2 separate regions of the Homo sapiens genome follow, and region 2 is linked to region 1. Evidence: promoter capture Hi-C in 16 types of primary human blood cells and fetal thymus (Javierre and others, 2016). All regions are on one chromosome and are shown on one strand. Each heading gives the region's core, a stretch centred on a gene start or on the middle of the fragment in contact. The rest is flanking DNA. Distances are from core to core; before and after follow the strand shown. Region 1 holds the start of GPR88 (G protein-coupled receptor 88). Region 2 has its middle 50 kb from the start of VCAM1.

The links. Contacts are between HindIII fragments. The CHiCAGO score rates a contact against its expected background, and 5 or more counts as called.
Region 2: a fragment that was not itself captured here is called in contact with the fragment with the promoter of GPR88 in region 1 in 1 of 17 cell types (megakaryocytes); the score reaches 5.2 in megakaryocytes.

What each region holds. Positions count from the first base shown.
Region 1 is chr1:100,534,014-100,541,226 of GRCh38, reverse strand. GPR88 (G protein-coupled receptor 88) reads right to left here and starts at 3,088. Exons shown (of 2, transcript NM_022049.3): 1 at 2,725-3,088; 2 at 1-2,333. The coding sequence starts at 2,260. The coding sequence ends at 1,106. RefSeq lists a silencer at 1,527-1,696 and enhancers at 966-1,814, 1,967-2,366, 1,815-2,664. The HindIII fragment of the contact is 8,214 bases long and covers 1-6,258 here.
Region 2 is chr1:100,766,584-100,773,675 of GRCh38, reverse strand. No RefSeq gene overlaps it. Among named protein-coding and RNA genes, the nearest start is that of VCAM1, 50 kb to the right of the region's middle. The HindIII fragment of the contact is 2,205 bases long and covers 2,699-4,903 here.

The DNA.
Region 1 (7,213 bases), core at 1,839-4,338:
TGGAAGAAGTAAAATATCCTTGTCTAACGGGTATTGCTTCAGTATACCACATGCCCAATAAGTTCTAGCATCTAGGAGCATGCAATAGCAGCTAATATTAGCTATGCAGTCATGGTATTATTAGTGTTTAATTATATCATGTGCATTGAGATATTTTAAATGTTAAAGAGAAAACAGAAGGACTTATTCTTCTTAGCAACCATTATAGTACAGAATGTTCAAAGCTGCAATCACATTCATAAGGCAAATAAATTGGTTACAAAATGAGGGTAGCAACAAGTGTGCATGCTATAGAAAATGTGAAACGGTACCTAAAATAGATAATCACCTTATTTGTTTTCAAAATTCCAGTGCTGGCTCTGACCATCAATTATCAAACTGGAAAATTTTCACTATAACACTCAACGCCAATTTTCAGTCTTAAGAGTGCGAAAAAAAAGGAGCATAAAATAATTTTTTTTCTCACTGGCTAAGATTCTACCTCATTTGAGAAAGACTTTATTAAAAACCCTTTTAAGAATAAAGGGCTTGAGGTCTTAATGGCAACTCATACTGGTGGGCACACCTAGGGCTTCACTGCCCCAGGGTAATATACAAAAACTAAATGGTAAGAGAAGCATCATCAAAGACAGGTTACTTTCTAAAATACTTTCTACATATTGTTTTCCTTCTTCAATGTTATTTCCTTTGGTTCATGCACACTCAAGGCGCTTCATATATAAGACGATGAAAGTGGAAAGGGTTATACATTATGAAAGCTCTTTTTCAAAAACAAACTGTGTGGAAATAAATTAACCGGTTATTTTAAAACGCCAGTTTGCAAGTTCTTCAAGTCTCTGGTGTTTTGACTTTAGGATTCCTCTAAAACACAGAAACAAAGGGTAAAAATCAGGTGGCCGTCCAAAATGACTTCGGGCGCCCCACTTAAAGAGACGCCTTGGTTCAGGTAGCCCGCTGGGGTCGAAGGCCCCATTTTCCCCCGATCTATCGGGCTTCGCGGCGGAAGTCTTCGTTCAGGCAGGGGATGCCCTAGGAGGGAAGGAGGCGACGGTGCCCAAGGACGTCGGAAGCCGGGGATCTCCGCTTCCCTCGGGCCCCGGCTAGGTTACCAGTGCTGGCCCGCGGCGCGGGTGCCCAGTTGCGCCTGGGACACTGCGGGCACGGCTGTGGCGGCAACGGCAGCGGCCGCCGCGTCGCCGACGCCCGGCAGGACTGAGCGCACGGAGCGGCGGAACTCCTCGTTCCTCCACGTGTAGAGCAGCGGATTGAGCGCGGACAGGGCGCAGCACAGGAGCCAGCTGGCCGCCTGCACTCCCCAGGGCACCGGCAGCGAGAAGCCGCTGGCCAGGCTCACCCACACCAGTGGCTGCGTGGCCAGCAGGAAGACGCAGCAGAGCAGCAGCACCGACAGGCCGCTGAGACGCCGCTGTGCCCGCCGCGGGTGCAGCGCGGGCGGCAGGGGCTGGGCCTGCGCCGGGTGCGCGGCGCCACCGGGGCCCGGCGCGTGCTGGGCGCCCGGGAAGGCGGCGGCGGCGGCGGCGCAGCCGGGCAACTGGTGCAGCAGGTGGAAGTTGAGCACGCTGACCCGCTTGACGCTGACACGCACGCGGCGCACGATGCCCAGGTAGCAGTGCAGCAGCAGAGCTGTCTGCGCCAGCAGCGCCGCGGCGGCCAGCAGCGCCGGGTAGTGGACTCGCGGTGGCGCGGCGCCGGGCCGCGGTGCCCAGGGCGGGAGCAGCAGCACGAGGCCCAGGGCGAGCGCCCAGGACAGCGCCAGCATGCCCGCCGTGTGGCGCCTCTGGTACAGCGCCTGGTAGGTGGCGGGCGCCCGGGTGATGAGCAGGTAGCGGTTCAGGGCCACGAGGCAGTGGGAGAGGAGGGACACCGTGAGTCCGAGGCCCAGCAGCCCACCCCGTAGCAGGCGGTAGCTGCCCCCAGCGCCGTCCCAGTCTGCGGGGGGCTCCGCAGAGCCGGTGGGCAGGAGCCCGAGCACCGCCTCCTGCGGCATCCAGAGGGCGCAGACGCTGAGGTCGGCGGCGCAGCCGTTCACGATGAAGGCGTTGCTGGTGGTCTGCAGCTTTCGGAAGGACGACACGAGATAGATGACCATGCCGTTGGCCAGCGTGCCCCCGATGGCCAGGCCCGAATACAGGAGTGACACCGGGATGCGCCGGCCCGCCCACGACTCCTCTTCCTCGCAGAGCAGCAGCAGCGAGCCACCGGTGGTGGAGGAGGTGGATGTGGAGGAGGAGTTGGTCATTCTGGCCAACTCTTCACACCTCCCTCGCTAGCGTCGGCTTCTGGCAGCGCGGTCCATCCTGACACTGTCCTGCCTGCCAGAAGGGCAAAGACATCCCTTCAGCCCTCTGCCACTGACACAAAAGGCTGAAGCAGAATAATGGGCTGGGGGAGGGGGAGAAAGGGAGCTCGAGGAGGAGGACGGGGGTGGCAGATGACAGGTGCCTGCCTCGGAAATGTCTCCAGAGCCAGGGGAAAGGCCACTTTGCATTGGATTCAGCAGGTATCGGGGAAGCCCTAGGACAGAGCAATACCTAAAACAGTCTCCTCTTCTCCCCCAACACACACACACACACACAGAGAGAGAGAGAGAGAGAGAGAGAGAGAGAGAGAGAGAGATATGTTGCCAGCTGGAGGACCTAGTTCCAGGAGAAAGCAGAGATATCCCAGCTGGGGAAAATCCCATGGGAAAGAGGTGAAGGTTACCTTGCGTTTAGGCTGGTCCTTAGCCGGTGTCTCAGGGGGAGGGATGCCGGGAAATACCTCCTCAGCAACAGCATCAGTGGTCCAGAAATCAACAGGAGAAACTCAGCTGGGATCAGTGCCAGGAGCAAGTGCCCGCTTCTCCCAAGCAGCATCCACACACATGGTCCTGGGCAGGAACTAGCAGCTGCAGGGAGACTTCTCAGCTGGTATCAGGGCTGGAGAAAGTAAAGTGGCGGGCTGCAAGCCCAGGCGGGTGGGCAGGCAGGCAGCAGCAGCAAGAATGCTTGGCTGCAAAAGCAGAAGCTGAGCTCAAGAGGAGAGCACCCTGTGCTCAGAAGCAGGAGTGGTGGCTGATGTGGTGAACCCACTCGAAGCTCTCTCCTGCTTAGTTATACATCATCCAGGGAAAAGACAGCCTTTCCACGCTTGGCATGAATTATTCAATAGCTTCCAACTTGTAAAAGGAAGAAAAATATCTTGCTCAGAAAGTCCTGTCGTTAACAAGTTTCTCTGTCTTTTCTCTCTCCCAATCACCTTATTTTTCATCCTGTTTCATTTTTCTTTCCGTCCTTTTTTTCCCTCCCTTCAATATTAGAATAAAATTTAATATACCCTAGAGTATTTCATCTCAGTCTGATGCATTTTGTGGGCAAGATTTTTCTGTGAGATAAATATATTCCCAGTACCCAGGACTGATCTCTTTATTCCCACATTTTTTAACGAGAATTACTTTATGCACTACTTGAAATTCATTTTTCTTTGGTAAAGTGGAACATAGACAATTATCCACAGAAAATCTCCATTCCTCAATTTAAATCGTACTTTCAGTGTTTTCTCATCAACAAACTCCTTTCCGGAGTTTGTTTTGTGTTTTAGTAATGAAATGGTTAGAGGGTAAAAATGAAATGGGCAAAAGATTTAAAGCAGATGTCAGTGGTACATCTAGACAATGGAATATTATTCAGTGCTAAAAAGAAATGAGCTGTCCAGCCATGAAAAGACATGAAGGAACCTTAAGTGTGTATCACTAAGTGACAGAAGCCAACTGGAAAGGACTACATACTGTATGCTACCAACTATGACATTCTTGAGAAGGCAAAACTATGGAGACAGTTAAAAAGACCAGTGGTTGCCCGAGTTAGGGGGAAAGGAGGAATGAATAGATGATCACGGAAGATTCTTAGGACAGTGGAACTACTCTGTATGATACCATAATAGTGGATCTGTGTACTTATAAATTTGCCCAAAGTGGCAGAATGTGAAACATCAGTGTAAGCCATGGACTTTGGGGAATGATGTGTCAACGTACATTCAATTGTAACAGACGAACCACTCTGGTGGGGGATTTTGATAATGGGAGAGGCTATGTATGCGAGGGGCAGGGAGTACATGGGAAATCTCTGTATCTTTCACTCAAATTTGCCATGAATCTAAAATTGCTCTAAAAAAATAAAGTCAATTTTAAAAAAATGTGTGTCAGGGGGAAAGCAAGAAACCTGAATAATCCACAGTGTGAACAAAGATGACTTTTCACTTCAGAACTTTTTGTCTTGTCTGTCTTGGAGATTTGCAGTCTGATGTTGGCATCTTCTTTGGTGCAAGTGTTCATTTATCCATTCCATGTGGGAATTTTTTCAGAAAAGGAGTTCTCTCAATTATTCACTGGAAAAGTCATGTATTTGAAAATGTAACTCAATATGGGAATATGGTAACATGGCATAATAGAAAAAAATGTTAGGTGGGGTTGCAGCACACCCAGATACTAAGCCGAGCATCCATCATGTAGCCTTGCGATGGATTATTTTCATCTTGTCAAATAAGTTCACAGTCAGTCACTTCAAAGGCCCTTTCTGTTAAAACTTTCTGTGAATCCCTATTCATGAATTTAGCATTTCTTCTCTCTAATTATGACACATGGCATATACCTCTTCTATCTAACATGCATTGCAGTTGTAGTTCTGGGTCATATGTCCCTAAGAGCAATGTTTCAGGAGAGAGGTCAAAACACAGCTTCTCTGCTTTTCTTTTTCTATTTCAAAATCAATATGGTTAGTTGATGACTTCAAGAACTCTGATGAGGATTAAGGATAAGCATGACTTGATAGATTTGGTCCAGCTAAGCTATATCTGAATGAAATTGGTTGGGGCAGGGGCAGGGGCCGGAGGGGGAAGTGAAAGAAAAGAACCAGTGACTTGCTATTCAGAGGGTTGAAGGTTTCGATATCAAGTTTACTGATGTAAATGAGATGAGTATTTGTCATCATCTTTTTGCCTATTGCCATTTGTCCTTATTGAGGTTTTGAGTGCATTAAGCACAGCAAGCCTGCATTTCTCCTTTCTAGTTATGACACATGGCGTATACCTCTTCTCTGTAACATGCATTGTAGTTCTGGCCCATATGTCCAGGAGTCTTTTCCACTCTGTCCCTAAGAGCAATGTTTCAGGAGAAAGGAGACTCTCCTAATCATTCATAGTTAAAACTTGCCATTGAAGTAAAGTTTTTTCTCTCACATTAACATAGTCCTAAAGGACTCTCTGATAGAATGTGGTGGGAGGGTATTCAAATTCTGGATCCCTGGTCCCAGCTGCCACTTTGTGTTGCCTTTGAGACGAGCAGCATTCCTGCTGAGGGACTCCAGTGCCTGGCAGTCACACACACTTCCTCCAAGACCATGCCTCCCTTAGCGCTGGCCTGACAGGGGCCAAATTTTTGTTTGTTTCTGGATTTGGTTTTCCTTTTGTTTTAAGTTAATGAACTTACATAATATAGGGTGGGAATTTTTTCTATCTTATTTCCAGCACCAGGTCAGTGCCTGGGACATAGTAGAAACTTAATCAATACTTACTGAATTAATAAGTGAATGGCAGTGTAAATGATTTCATTTATGTTTTCTCCACGGTGAAACAGTAATTCACTTTTATGAGCATCTCTTTCCTCCCACCTTCAGCAGGAACTTGCCCCATCAGTCATCTGCTTTCTGCTGTCTCTTGTCAGTCTCTCTGCTCTCCACTGCTTGCTCCCCTTCAGACTTACAAAAATGCTGATTTCACCACAACCTCATAAAACTCCCCTGGAACTTCACCTCCTTCTCATGGTGCCTACACACAGCTCACTTCCCCTTCCTGATGGAAGTGCTCATTTTCTCCTTCTACTTCTGATTTTACCATTGAATACCCACCCACACGGCCCTTAGCTCTCCCTGCTCCACAGAAACAGCTTTGGCCAAGGTTAACAGTAGCCTCTCAGTAGCAAATCGTGACTCCTAAATCCTTGCCCTCTACTTTGACTCTGTGAAGAACACCCTCCTCCTCAGTGCCATTTCCCTCCAGGTTTCCCTTTGCTTCTGTTCCTCTGTCTGCTCCCTTCCAGACTCAGTCTCTGGCTCCCCAGTGTCATGGCTCCTTTAAGATAGTGTTCCTGGCTTCTCTTCTTGGTTCTCTTCTCACCCTACTCTCTCTCCCTAATTGATCTCATCTGATTCCTGCCTTCCACTCTCGCCTATGGGTCACCCACAGATTCTTTCCCACCAAGCTTACTTCTTTCCAGAGTTGCAGACGTGTTGGAACTCTCCATTCGGCTGGCCTCTCTCCCTCCTCATCCCACTCATTCTCCTATGGTCACTGATTTGGTTAATAGTCCCCATTGTTACCCTAGTGTTTCTAATAATTCACTATCAAATATGGTGTTTGTTATAGTTTTCTGATATATTGTTTATAAGTTAGAGACATTTCTATCTATTTCTAGTATGACTTTTATATGAAGTGAATTTTTTTTTAGCTGTTGATGTAGTAGGTTACATTTGATATATTTTTAAAAGTTGAATCATCTTTGCATTCCTCTGATAAACCCTGTTTGGTTACAATATATTATCCTTTTAAAGATAGACTGTAGGATTCTATTTGGTAGTATTTTATTTAAGAGTTTTGCATCATAAGTAAAGCCCACTTGGTTTATTTTTCTTGTGCCATCTTGTCCTTTCTTAGTGTCAAGGTTAAGATAAAATTCCCCCCAGGAGTTATTTCACCACTGCTACATCCACATCCACATTCCAGCCCACAGAGATGGAGAAAGATGAAGGGAGGGCAGCCAGCTTCCTTTTTAAGATTTCAGGAGAATCATAAACATCATTATTTTCAATGCCGTCGAGTACATACCATATGTGCCAAGCCATGCTTTGAGTATTTTTTATCTGTTGTTACATTTATTCCTCATGCCAGGGTGACAAGGTACCCAGTCTCCCCCACCCCCCCCACCTAAATTTGCAGGGCAGAGCAGGTGTTCAAAAGGAAGTTTGCCTGCCAATGTCTAAATATTTTAAAATCATAAATCCAGCTATCAAACTATTAAATATGTTCTATTCTCCTAACTTAACAAATATACTTTCATGACAACTGGAGAGCCAGACTCAAATTTAGAATTCTGACCAGACACAATAGCTCACACCTATAATCCCAGCAATTTGCAAGGCAGAGGTGGGCAGATTGTTTG
Region 2 (7,092 bases), core at 2,552-5,051, 230 kb before region 1:
TAAGCACATGAAAAGTTGTGCAACATTATTAGTCATTAGGGAAATACAATCAAAACCACAATGGGATAGCACTTCACATCTATTTAGGATTGCTAGAATTTAAAAAAATTAAAAATCAAAACAAAGGAAAATAGCAAGTGTTGGCAAGGTTGTGGAGAAACTGCAACCCTTCTACATTGCTGGTGGGAATGTAAAATGGTGCAGCTGCTGTGGAAAACAGCTTGGCCTTTCCTTGAAGAGCTAAACATAGAATTATCATATGATCTAACAATTCTATTCTTAGGTATATACTCCCCAAAACTAAAAATGGGGACTCAAATAGATATTTGTAGACCAATATTAATTTTAGCATTATTCATAATAACCAAAATGTAGAAACAACCCAAGTGTTTATCAACAGATAAGTGGATGAGCAAAATGTGGCATATATATACATACAAAAAATATTATTTAGCCATCAAAAGGAATAAAATTCTAAAACATGTTACAAAATGGATGAACCATGAAAACATTAAGTTAAGCAAAATAAGCCATACAAAAAGGGCAAACATTACATTGTTTCACTTATAGAAAATTTTTAGAATAGAGACAGAAGCAGATTAGGCATCACCAGGGGCTAAGGGAAGAAGGGAATGGGAACTTATGGCTTAATGGTTGGTTGTAGAGTTTTTGGTGGGGGTTGATAAAAAACTCTTAGAAATAGATAATGCCAGTGGTTGTACAACATTATGAGTGTGGCTAATACCACTGAATGTACACTTAAAAATGGTTAAAATGCCAAATTTTATGACATGTTATCACAATAAAACGTTTCAAAGAGAAGTGTAAAAAAGTGAAAGCAAACAAAAGACATTTTTAGATAAAAACAAAGTGAATATGTTGCCAGTATCTCTGCACTACAAAAACTGCCAAAGAAAGTTTTATAGGCTGAAGGGAAATGATAAAAAATGGAATTCTGAATTGAAAGGGAGAAGAAATTATAAATATGTGGGTAAATATAAACATTTGGTTTTCTTTCTTAATTTCTTTAAAAGTTAATTGACTAAAGCAAAAATAGTAAAAAATGTATTTGGGGTTCAAAATAAATGTCGAAGTAAAATGTATGACAAGAGTAGCACAAATGACAGGAAGGGATATAAGTGAAAATTACATACCTTACTGCTCTAAGGTTGTTATATATAAAATAATGTAATATTAATTCTAGACTGTGACAAACTAAGAATGCATATTATACGTAATCTCTAGAGAAACCACAAAATGTAATAATACAATGAGGTAGTTCAAAAAACAAATAGAGGAAACAAGGAAATTCTAAAAAATACTCAAGGCAGAGAAGAAAGAAGAAAAAGATATCCACAAAACGAAGCAAGTAGAAAACAAAAGCAAGATGATAGTTTAGAACCCCATCATATCAATAATTAAACCAATGCAAATGAACTATAGTTAAAAGGCAAATATTGCAGACTGAATTAAACAACAAAAAAGCAAGGTATAACTATACACAGATTAAAAGGGATGCACTTGAAATATGAAGACACAGGCAGGTTGAAAGTAAAGGATGAAAAAATATGCAAGAAAGACACTGACTGATATGGTGACACCAGTTTGCTATTAGTATCAAAGAAATGAATCTTCAAGACAAAGAATATCATCAGAGATAAAATTATTTCATAACGATAAAAGGATCAATTCATCAAGAAGGTTTAATGACACTAAATATGTATGCTCCTAATAATACTGTTTCAAAACACATTAAACAAATATTGGCAGAACTAAAAGAAGAAATAGATTTATTTTTGTATATTGCTAGATTCTATTTGCTAAGAATTTTTGTGTCTACGAACACATGGATTGGAAAACTAAATATTGTTAAGACATCAGTCTTCCCTAAATTGATGTATAGACCTGAGGCAATATCATTTAAATTCCAAGCAAGCTATTTTGTGTGTGTGTGTGTGTGTTTGTGTGTGTGTGTGTGTGTGTGTGTGTGTGTGTGTGACAGAGTCTCGCTCTGTCGCCCAGGCTGGAGTGCAATCTCAGCTCACTGCAACCTCCACCTCCTGGGTTCCGGTTATTCTCCTGCCTCAGCCTCCTGAGTAGCTGGGATTACAGGCATGTGCCACCACGCCCAGCTAATTTATGCATTTTTAGTAGAGATGGGGTTTCACTATGTTGGCCAGGCTGGTCTTAAACTCCTGACCTCAGGTGGTCTGCCTGCCTCGGCCTCCCAAAGTGCTGGGATTACAGGCAAGAGCCACCATGCCCAGCCTTTTTTTTTTTTTTTTAAATGTGGTAGAAACTGATAGCTAAACCTAAACTTTATATGAAAATGCAAAGGACCTGGAATATAACCTTAAAAAATAAGAATAAAATTGTAGTAGTTACACTGACTCCATAACTTATTAACTCATTAAAAAGCTATATAATCATAATAGTAAGATGTTAATAAAATATAGATCAGTAGGTCAATAAAACTGGATAGACAGACCAAAAATAAACATATACACTTTTAAAAGTCAATTACTTTTGACAAGGTACCGAGACAATTCAATAGAGAAGGGGAAGTCTTTAAACAAATGTTGCTGTAACAACAGGATTTTTGTAAGGAAAAAATATGAATCTTAACTGCTATGTTATGTAATACATAAATATTAATGTGAAATGAATGACAGGACTAAACTAAAAAAACTGTAAAGCTTCTAGGAAAAATAACAGGAAAACATATTTAAGACTTTCTGATATGCAGAGATTTCTTAGAATTCTAAAAGCATTAAGCATAAAGAAAAATTGATACAGTGTAATTTATAAATATTAAGAACTTCTCTCAATGAAACACTGATAATAAAACAATGATGTGAGCTAAAGACTGTGGAAACATTTGCTACATGTATATCTGATGAAGGACTTGTTTCTAAGTTATATAGACAATTATGGTATTAAGTAACAATAATTTTAAAAATCAACAACCCAGTTTTTAAAATTTGGGCAGAAAATTTTGAGACAATTAAAAACAGAATATATGAATGGTCAATAAACACAGAAAAAGCTCCCAACAGCACTCGTCTTCAGGGAAATGTAAATTAAAATCACCATGATATGCCACTCTTTATCTACTAGAATGGTTAAAGTTAATACCAAGCATTGACAAGAATGTGGCCCAAGAGGGACTCTCATACTTTGGTGGTGGCAGTGTGCAATGGCATGACTACTTGGAAAAGTTTATAGTTTCTTGTAAAGCTAAATATACACAACCCCATGACCCAGCAATTTCACATCTAGTTTTTTTTTTATCCAAGGGAAATGAAAACATACTTGTTGGCATTGGTTCTGACTTCTTTAAATGACACTTTCATAAGCAAACTTTCTAAAGGGTTAATCCATAATTGCTGTTACCATTTCTTTACCTCTCATTTGCTCCTCAAATCACTGTTATCACATATCATTCTTTTGACTCCTCTGAAATTGCTTTGGCAACACTTACCGGCAGCCTCAGTAAGTGCCAAATGGAATGTTCACTCTGAAATCATTGTTTTATTCTATTTCACTGCAGTCATTGTTTTACTCAATTTCACTACAGCAAATGTCATCATTGACCACGTTCCCTGCTTGAAATTTTCCTTCCCTGGTATACTAAGTACACTCTTACCGCTTTGGTTTCCTGACTATTTCCTTTTATTGTTCTTTGTTGAATTCATTTACTCTACTATCTTTTCTCATTAAATATTGGTGTCCTTAGGATTTTAGTTTTTTTTCCCTTACTTTATACAGCCATCTGCCACATAATGACGTTTCAGTAAACAATGGACTGCATATATGACAGCAGTTCCATAAGATTATAATACCATATTTTTACGGTAGCTTTTCTATGTTTAGATATGTTTAGGTACACAAATACTGACCACTGTGTTACAACTGCTTACAGTATTCAGCACAGTAGCATGCTGTACAGGTTCATAGCCTAGGAGCAGTAGACTATACCATCTAGGCCAGGTGTGTAGTAGGCTACACCATCTATGTTTGTGTTAAGTGCACTCTATGATGTTCATCCAACTACAAAATCACCTAACGATGCATTTCTCAGAATGTATCCTATCCTTAAGTGATACATAACTGTATATGTTATCTTGGTGATCTCATGCATCTCTCTGACTTCACCAACCATCTTTGTCTGATGACTCCCAGTCTGTATCTCCAGCTCTGGTTTCTTTCTTGACTCTGATCTGTGTATTCATCTCTGTATACAGAGATTGTATAATCCTAATCTCTGTCATTAAATCCTATTTAATTACTATTTCGGTGACTATTATACCCATCTTCTCTTTCCCAAATCTGGGATTCTTGTATTTTTCCTTTATTTTGACTTCTCCCTTATTTTTCTCAGAAATCTATCACCAAGTTCTATCAATTCTACTTTTCAAATTTTCTCATCTCCATGCCTTTCTGTGGGAACTACCATTGCCTTAGTTCAAGCCTTCACCATTTTCTACTTGTATTAAAATAACTTCTTAACTAGAATATCTGCTTTTAGCCTTCCCTCAGATTCAGTAACATCAAATCACTTATAATTCCCTAGGTATGCCATTGGATTAGACATAAACAGAGATGCCTGCTCACAGTTCCCTCAGGGACAAGGTACATTTCCCATCATGGTTATGCATCAGACGAGCTGACCCTGTCTCCCTGATTTAAGATGCTAATAAGGGCAGGAATCCTGCCCTTGTTAATTGGAATCTGATTAATTATGGAAGGAATCTGATTAATTATAATTATATTGTTAATTAATTAATTAAAATTAATTGTATAATTGATTATAATTATATTATTATAATCAGATTCCTTCTATAGACATTTTCAAACTGAAGGTAAAGAAAGAGAATATTTTTCCTCTCAGATCAGAAAAGCTTCCTTCAGCAATGCCTGTCCTCCCAACTTATGGATGATCTTATCTGAAGAGTAGAAATTTGGCCCATAGAGAGGAGAAGAGATGAGAAAAGGAAAAATTAAGAGTCCTGAGTTTGTGCTTCCAATGATCTATCCTACCTTTCCCAAGGTTTAGCTAGGTAGGTTCATAGAATTCCTCTTTTACCAGATTGAATTGGTTTTTTATCTTCAACAAAAAAAGGCCTAACTATAACAGCCATACTTTTAACCATCCGTTTCTTTTTTATTTTTGACATGTAATAACTGTACATAATTATGGGGTTCGTAGTGATGTTTCAATACATATAATGTATCATGATCAGATCAGGATAATTAGCATATCCATCATCTCAAACATTTGTCATTTCTTTTGCTGAGGACATTCAATAACCTCCTTCTTTCAGGTTTCAATAACCTGAAACTATATATTAGTGTTAACCATAGTCATCCTTTGGTGCTACTGAACACTAGAACTTATTTCTCCTATCTAGCTGTAATTTTGTATCCTTTAACTATTCTGTCCCTATCCCCCCATCCCTCCACCCTTCCCAGTCTCTAGGATCCTCTGTTCTACTTTTTACTTCAATGAGATCAACTTTTTTTTAGCTTCCATCTGTGAGTGAGACCATGTGGTGTTCAACTTTCTGTTTGTGGCTTATTTCATTTAATATGTCTTCCAGTTCCATCCATGTTGTTACAAATGGCAGAATTTCATTCTTTTTATGACTGAATAGTATTCCATTTTGTATATATACTACATTTTCTTCATCCATTCATCTACTTTTGGACACCTAGGTTGATTCCATATCTTGGCTATTGTGAATAGTGCTGCAATAAACATAGATGTGCAGATGTCTCTTTGATATAATGATTTCCTTTCCTTTGGATAAATGCCCAGTAGTAGAATGGCTGGATCATATGGTAGTTCTTTATATATTTATATATTTTTTGAGGAAACTCCATACTGTTCTACATAGTGGCTGTACTAATTTACATTCCCACCAACAGTATGTCAGAGTTCCTTTTTCTCTGCATACTCACAGTTTTATTTTTTTGTCTTTTTGATAATAGCCATCTTAACTGGGGTAAGATGATACCTCATTGTGGTTTTGATTTGCATTTCTCTGATGATTAATGATGTTGAGCATAGTCTCATATATTTGTTAGTCATTTTTATGTCTTCTCTTGAGGAACATCTGTTTAGATCATTTGCACATTTTTTAATCAGATTTTTTTTTTTGCTGTTGAGATAGTTCAGTTCCTCATATATTCTAGATATTCATATACTGTTGCATGAATAGCAAACAAATATTTTCTCCAATCTTTTAGGTTATCTTTTCACTCTGTTGATTATTTCTTTTACCATGCAGAAGCTTTTTAGTGTGACATAATCCCATTTGTTTACTTTTGCATGTGTTACCTATGCTTTTGAGGAAATGATTCATAAAATCATTTCCCAGACCAATGTTCCTGAATTATTTCCCCTATGTTTTCTTCCAGTAGTTTTATAGTTTGGGGTCTTACATTTAGGTATTTGATCCATTTTGAGTTGACTTTTGTATAGAGGGAGAGTTGGTGGTCTAGTTTCATTCTTCTGCATATAGATATCCAGTTTTCCTAGCATCATTTATTGAAGAACTTGTCCTTTTACCAGTGAGTGTTCCTGACATCCATCCTTTTTTCTTAAGTTAGAACTCCTGATTAGAGGAAGTTGGAATAACAATCAGCCATCTTTCGGGAATCAACCCAGATGTCACCACCTCTGCAACCCTTTGTCTAAAATCCCTGGTGGTTCCTTAACATCAGATACAATTTGCTGAATATATCAAGAGGTAATGAATGAATTGGTCTCATACCAGCTCCTTATATAATTAAGAATGCGTCAGGAGCTAACATTGCATTCATTAAATTAGTTACTATCCACTTTGTACTCATCCAAATATTCTCCATAATCTCTTCTGTCTTTAGGTCCATAGATATCTACTCAGCCATATATCTTCTTGGCAAGTTTCCCCTCTTCTTCCCTATTAATGAAGTTTTGCTTCCCTATTAAGTAGTCTCTTACAATGTTTAAAAATATCCTTCCTTTATTATATTCTAATTTTGAATTCTCTCTCTCCAAATCTCAGTAATGATTACAAGACTTTATTTACCACCATATATTAAAAAGTT